Linked DNA regions of Homo sapiens: region 1 is linked to region 2. Evidence: promoter capture Hi-C in 16 types of primary human blood cells and fetal thymus (Javierre and others, 2016). All regions are on one chromosome and are shown on one strand. The core of a region is centred on a gene start or on the middle of the fragment in contact, and the rest is flanking DNA. Distances in the headings are between cores, read along the strand shown.

Region 1 (3,529 bases), core at 272-2,771, 220 kb after region 2:
TCCTTTTGGATCGTGCCGTTTTAAGGCAACTTGACAGAACAGATCTTTTTTCCATGCTTGCTAATGTGTGTACTATGTGAATAATCAGAGATGAGTGATAAAGCAGATAGTGTCCCTGCTCCCACGACAGCAATCTCAAACCATGGTATAGAATTACAAGCCATGAAAAGTGGTACAGAGGCAGTGCACAACATGTGTCCAATCTGCAGTGTCTGGGAAGGCTTCCTAAGGAGGTCATAATAGAGCTGAAGACTGCAGGATGGGTAAGGGAAACGATAGTTACAAAGTGTGTTCCATGCCCGGGAAGAGCCTGTTTCAGTGGCCCACCTACAGGAGGGATCAGAGCACATCCATGGAGCTGAGTGCCGCCCGGTGTTACTGGAAAGCAGAGAGGGAAGGACAGAGAATTACAGCAGGGTGTATGTAGGCACTACAGACAGCAGAAGAGGCTGAAGAGGTAGGCAGTGACCAGGTCATAAAGGGCCTTGTATTCTATGCTACAGAGCTCACATTTTATCCTGTTTCCTGGGGAACCATTACAGATTTTTAATCAGGGGAAAGACCTGGCCATCTCTCTGTTTTAGTTAGGAGAGAATGGTAGGTATATAGAAAAAAGGTTTTGTTCGAAGTGTGAGAGTGAAGTTGGAAACTAGTTAGGAGGCTTTTGCTGTAGCCCAAGTGAGAAATGGCCTAACTAGTCTACTAGTTTAAATAATGAAAATGTCAGTGAGCCATTTGACTTTTTAAAATAAGCTTTATTCATACAGCTAGAGTTGGATGGTATTGTCTTTATTAACTAAAGCAATTTTCACATCTAGCTATTCAACCTATAAGCACCTTCACTTCTGGTTGGTTATGACTTAGATCTGTAAACAACCTTTCTGATTAAAAAAATGAATTCTGAGATTAATAATAGTAACCCATACTTCTCTGCCTATTTCCTAGAGGAGTGGTCCCCAACCTTTTTGACACTGGGGTAATGGTTTCATGGAAAACAATTTTTCTTTTTTCTTTTTTGTTTCATCTTGTTGCCCAGGCTGGAATGCAATGGCGTGGTCTCAGCTCACTGCAACCTCCGCCTCCTGGGTACAAGCAATTCCCCTGCCTCAGCCTCCCGAGTAGCTGGGACTAGAGGTGCACGCCACCACGCCCAGCTAATTTTTTTGTATTTTTAGTAGAGACAGGGTTTCACCATGTTGACCAGGCTGGTCTCGAACTCCTGACCTCAGGTGATCTGCTCACCTCAGCCTCCCAAAGTGCCGGGATTACAGGCGTGAGCCACCGTGCCTGGCCGGAAAACAATTTTTCTGTGGGGCTGACGGGGGGGTGGTTTCGGTATGAAACTCTTCCACCTCAGATCATCAGACATTAGTTAGATTCTCATAAGGAGTGTGCAGCCTAGATCCCTCTCATGCGCAGTTCACAATAGGGTTTGCGCTCCTATGGGGATCTAATGCTGCCACTGATCTGACAGGAGGTGGCGCTCAGGCGGTGGTGCTCACTCCCCACTGCTCACCTCCTGCTGTGCCACCCAGTTCCTAACCGGCCATGGACCTGTACTGGTCCACGGCCCTGGGGCTGGGGACACCTTTCCTAGAGAATTCTCTGCTGTGTCATGGAATTTGAAGCTATTACACATCAAAAGAACAAAGGAGGAATTACTTATGGTTAGACTAGAAACAGAAGAGTCTTCCTTTTAAACAGATAAAGGGTTTCTTTTATTTGTTTGTTTAGCCTTAGATGTAGCTTGAAAGCAGTCTAAAAGGTAGTGCCCTAGAGAATGTGACAGTAGCCTACTTAGGATTCTTTTCAGTACCTTTTGTCAACATGTGACTCAGGGTCTCTGCCTCTTGGCTGAAGGTTGCTGCCTGCCTGCTGCTGCTGTTTTGTTGTCTAATGAAGTTGGAAAATGATTCTAAGAATCTTTTTTTCTCCTAGGACACTAGTTAAATTGTTTATTTTATTAAAATAAGTTTTTTGCCCTGGTCTATTACTTCCCATCAAGTGATCTGGTTGCCTGGTGAACCTCCCGTAGATGGTTGTGTTTGATAAGCAGAAGTGGGAAGTTGACCTCCTTTCATTTTATGAAACATGAACAGATTTCAGATTTCTCCAAAGCTAAGGTGTAACATGTAGGGGTCCGTCCCGCAGACCCTGACCCAATGACGGATGAATAACTTACACTGACACAGATGTTATGCTTGTCAGTCCAGCTGAGAGTCCGGGCCACTTACAGACTCCCAGGAGAGTGCTGTAAAGCGTTGCAACCATCGGCCTCAACTAGCCAAGGAAGCTTGCATTTATTTAGTATAGATTAATTGACAAAGGCTTGAGTCAACACACCTGTGGGTAATTCACCTGGTCGCCCCCACCCTGGAGAGGGCCATCTTGCCCACCAATGATCAAAGGTTAGTCTTAGGACCACATGAGTAAACAAGCTCTTTAGATAAACTACTTTATATTCCTTTGTATCTGTACCTTAAGCTCTCTGGCTCCTGAAAAGAGAATCTGGCTACCTTCAGCCAAACTTTGAAGCTATGCAAAACTCCCCGGCCTTCCAAGCAGGTTTGCTTTTTTCTATTCCTATAATTTCTTCTGCCATCCTGACTGAACCCCCACATCTACATAAATTTATTGTGATTGGCCCTCTATTTCTGGGCTTCTAGAGTCGTTATATAAGAGTATTAAAGACATTCTGTTGGTATAGCAATATCTTTCCAGCACATTGTTCAATTCCAGACATGCTTTAGTATCTTTTTGTTTTAGACACTGTTTCTAATATCCTTTCCTTTTCCCATTGAGACTATTAAAATACAGAGAGTACCTGTATGTGTGTTATGTAAAAACAAATGGCATTGAACAGATTTTTAGGATTTTATGTTTATTTTGAATGATCTAATGTGGCTCTATCTCAAGTTCTGCTTAATCGTTTTTGTGTTTTTCCTTTAACTTTTTACTCTATACTCCTATCATATATGAAACTTTAATATATTTCTCTAAACTCTTAACGTTTCCAAGTTGAAGAATATGACTAGGCCTTAGACACAACAGGAACCAGGAATACTCTTGCTAGATATGTTATCTCTCACCCTTCTTTTTATATTTTTTTCTTATTTTATATTTCTTATTTCAGAATGTTTTTTCTTTATGTGTTAAGAAATATAATTCCTGGGCCGGGCGTGGTGGCTCACGCCTGTAATCCCAGCACTTTGGGAGGCCGAGGCAGGTGGATCACGAGGTCAGGAGATCAAGACCATCCTGGCTAACAAGGTGAAACCCCGTCTCTACTAAAAATACAAAAAGTTAGCCAGGCGTGGTGGCGGGCCCCTGTAGTCCCAGCTACTCGGGAGGCTGAGGCAGGAGAATGGCGGGAACCCAGGAGGCGGAGCTTGCAGTGGAGCTGTGATCGCGCCACCGCACTCCAACCTGGGCGACAGAGCGAGACTCCGTCAAAAAAAAAAAAAAAGAAATAGAATTCCTGGGCTCAGTTTCTTACAACTTCAGACACTAGTGATAGACTGATTCTCAG
Region 2 (3,614 bases), core at 789-3,288:
CGATTCTTGTGCCTCAGCCTCCTGAGTAGCTGGAACTACAGGCATGCACCACCACGCCCGGTTAATTTTTGTATGTTTGGTAGAGATGGGGTTTCACCATGTTGGCCAGGCTGGTCTCAAACTCCTGACTGCAGGTGATCCGCCCGCTTCGGCCTCCCAAAGTGCTGGGATTCCAGGCGTGAGCCACGGCACCCGGCCGAGAGCATTTTTTAAAAGGGTGAAGTGCCACAGCCGGCAGTTCTCATCAGCCAGAGCGCAGAATGAGAGTACTGAACATGGGGAAGGGGCTTGGTGGGGTGGGTGATGAGCAGGTGAAAGATTTGTAAAAAAGAAAAGGAGGGGTTGAGAAGGGTAATCTTACTTTGAAATTCTACCTGGGGCGCTCAGGAGACGGTCTGCCGTTGAAAGTCACCTCAGCGGCTGGACTAGATTAGTAAGAATGACAACATCGCATCCTTCAAAGGCTCTGCCTCGGCTGCACTGAGACACGATAAAGGCCAGTCTTTAAAAACTGAGTGATCTCTAAACACTCTGCACTAGTCATACCACCACCGTCCCGTTCAAGAGTCTGTGCCTCTAAGGCTGTTCATTCTGTCTAGTTCATGATCCCTTTCTCAGATGGATCAACTCTGCTTATCCTTGAAGACTTCAAAGAAATTAGTGAGAGACAGTCACCATCACCAGAGTCAGCACAGGTCAACTTTTCTCTACAGGCTTGGGGTTTCTGAAGTTGGACTTGATGTGGAGAAGCTGGATAGCAACCAAAATGATTGAAGGGCTGTGGCGCTGGCACTGGTAAGAATGAAAAGAATTAGGGTTACTGGACTTGGTGAAAAAGACATGAGGAGAAGGGACAGGCAAATAATAATCAAACACCATGAATCAGAGGGTAGGGAAGGTAGCCACCGTTCCTTTGCTTTTACTAGAGACTAAGAAATGGATTATACATAGCAAGAAGCTTCAGAAAAGATTTCTTACTACATAAAGGTTCCAAGACATTGGAGTTGACCAAGGGAGTCTGTGAACCCTATTATTTTAATTACTCAGCTCATGGAGTTGTTTTGAGGATTACGTATATAAAAATCTGCGTAAATGACGTAGTATACAGTGCCTGGTTCACACCGTGGCTCAAATGATGGTTATTATTATTCTCTTACTAAGCATGCTTTAAAGGCTGTCGGAAAACTTTGGGGCCACCTAGGAAATCGTAGTATAATCAAATAATGCTGAAATTCTTGTGTGTGTGTGTGTGTGTGTGTGTGTGTGTGTGTGAGGTAGGGGCTCACTCTGTCGCCCAGGCTGGAGCACAGCAGGGCGATTACGGTTCACCTCAGCCTCGACCTCCCGGGCTCAGCCTCCCAAGTAGCTGGGACCAGAGGCGCACGCCACCACCCTCGGCTAATTTTTCTATTTTTTTGTAGCGACACTGCCTCGCAATGTTGCCCAAGCTGGGATGCTGAAATTCTTCCCCTTCCAAGAATCCATCTATAATTATAGCCTCCACGTCATTCTCCCTATTGGAATGTTTAATTGACTAAAACTACATTGCCTTCATCTGCTTACTAAGCGGTGGATCCAGTAAAGACCACATCTTGTCCAAAAGACGGCAGCACTTAATTAGCGCTCAAATGGCACTCGAACGTTTGGGCGAGGGGGTGTTCAGTCGCAGCCACCTTACTTTGCGAAGGCACACAGGGACAGACGTTCGCTAAGTGCCGATACTTAGGGAGAACGAGAGGGCCTGACCAGGTAAAGACGGCCTCCGCTGCCCAAGCTACACAAAAAGGTTGGGGAGCCAGGACCCGGCAAGCAAGGAGAGAAAAGTTTCATGCGTTGAGCTGGAGTCTGAAGCAAGGACCTAACGGACACAGGGAAACGTCACAGGAAAGGGAGCCCAGGAGAGCAGACGCGGAGCCACCAGACCAGAAAAAGGAAAAAGCACTGGAAAACAGCATCGAAGTCACCGGAAAGCAGCATCGAAGCCACCGGCGCCAGCCTCATACCTGCGCTTCCCGCTCCCCTCCTCGGCGCCTAGTGATAACCTCACCCGCCGGCGCCCAATCCCGTCGAGCGTCAGGCGTGAGGCGGCGCAGCCAAACAGTCACATCCGGGGCCGAGAGGAACCGCGAACGAGCTGGGCGTGCGCCCTTGCTTCGTGCCCTCAACCCGCATGGCGGAGCCGCTGGCGCGCCGCGGAGAGGCCGGGCGAGTCGGGCGGTTTCGGCGCCCGCGCTGAGCCGCGGAGGAGGGGCGGAGGACGCCCCTGCAGCCGGTGCGTCTGCCCTCAGTGAGGCGGGGCGCGCGGCGGACGCCCCCGGGCAGGGGCGGGAGTGGTGGAGGCGCCGGCGGTTGGCACTGACAGGGGCGGTGAGCGAGCCGCTCCGGTCTCCGGGCGAGGCTTGGCCTTCCGAGCAGAGACGGCGGGAAGCGGCGGCGGCAGCGGCGGCCCTAGGGCCGGCTGGTGAGGCGATGGCGGCGCCGGCCCCGGGGGCTGGGGCAGCCTCGGGCGGCGCTGGCTGTAGCGGCGGCGGCGCGGGCGCGGGCGCGGGCTCGGGCTCTGGGGCCGCGGGGGCCGGGGGCCGGCTGCCCAGCCGGGTGCTGGAGTTGGTGTTCTCTTACCTGGAGCTGTCCGAGCTGCGGAGCTGCGCCCTGGTGTGCAAGCACTGGTACCGCTGCCTGCACGGCGATGAGAACAGCGAGGTGTGGCGGAGCCTGTGCGCCCGCAGCCTGGCAGAAGAGGCTCTGCGCACGGACATCCTGTGCAACCTGCCCAGCTACAAGGCCAAGGTGAGAGAGCCCCGGGCCACACCGCTGCCCCCAGTCCCGCTCCCCGGCGTCGTTCGCGGTGTTTCTCATCCGAGCTTCTGAGTCAGAAGCTTCGCCTCACCAGCCCGCCTTTCCACGGCTCCAGTCAGTATCTTCCTCACCTCCCCCCAAGATAAAGATTCTCTTTTCTTTGGATCGAAGTTCTGCTCCTTAACCCATCCCACTTCCGTGATCCACTTTTCAAACAACTAGGTAGTTTGCCTCACTCATTCAACTTTTGACAGTTTTCCCCGTTAAAGACAGACCACCACTCTTGTACCTTTTAATGCCCTCATCCTACTTTTCTCCCCGGCCTCCAGATAGACTTCATTATATTAAATAATCCCGGCCACCTTAACATGGGCTTAGTTTCTAAGTTTCTAAGTTTCTAGTTTGCTTTCACTCCACGTTTATCTCATCTTTTCCAAGCTCTGATTTTTAACCATTTGTTTTCATTATTTTCCCCCAAGTTCTCTTTAGTTCCCTCCACTATATTGGAGGCTTACAAGTGAGTGTAGTTCTAGTCATCCTGCTCACTTACAAGATACAGGCTTTTATAGAACGTCCACGGGCACCACCTAACATACTGCTTTGTCCTGCTGTTATTGGCTGTTTCCTTGCTAACTTTTTAATAGTTCCACATTGATGGTGTCTCTCTTTTTCTATTTGTCATCTAACGTGCTGATTACAGTTTCGCTGCATCCTTCCTGCATATTCCGCCCGCCTTCATATACAAAATAAAAATGTCAAGGAACAAGTTGTGGTACGGCTGAAAGGACTCTCAGGCCGAATAAACAAAGGGTCTTGGT

What was found. The method cuts DNA at HindIII sites, captures the fragments that hold promoters and counts their contacts. A CHiCAGO score of 5 or more calls a contact.
Region 1: a fragment that was not itself captured here is called in contact with the fragment with the promoter of WDR53 in region 2 in 2 of 17 cell types (M1 macrophages and M2 macrophages); the score reaches 5.8 in M1 macrophages.

What each region holds. Positions count from the first base shown.
Region 1 is chr3:196,788,472-196,792,000 of GRCh38, forward strand. The region is part of intron 2 of PAK2 (p21 (RAC1) activated kinase 2); the gene reads left to right. Among named protein-coding and RNA genes, the nearest start is that of PAK2, 50 kb to the left of the region's middle. The HindIII fragment of the contact is 1,540 bases long and covers 752-2,291 here.
Region 2 is chr3:196,566,516-196,570,129 of GRCh38, forward strand. WDR53 (WD repeat domain 53) reads right to left here and starts at 2,039. Exons shown (of 4, transcript NM_182627.3): 1 at 2,004-2,039; 2 at 362-792. FBXO45 (F-box protein 45) reads left to right here and starts at 2,145. Exons shown (of 3, transcript NM_001105573.2): 1 at 2,145-2,787. The coding sequence starts at 2,470. RefSeq lists enhancers at 181-1,380, 3,398-3,614 and silencers at 2,102-2,641, 2,763-3,057. The HindIII fragment of the contact is 1,918 bases long and covers 957-2,874 here.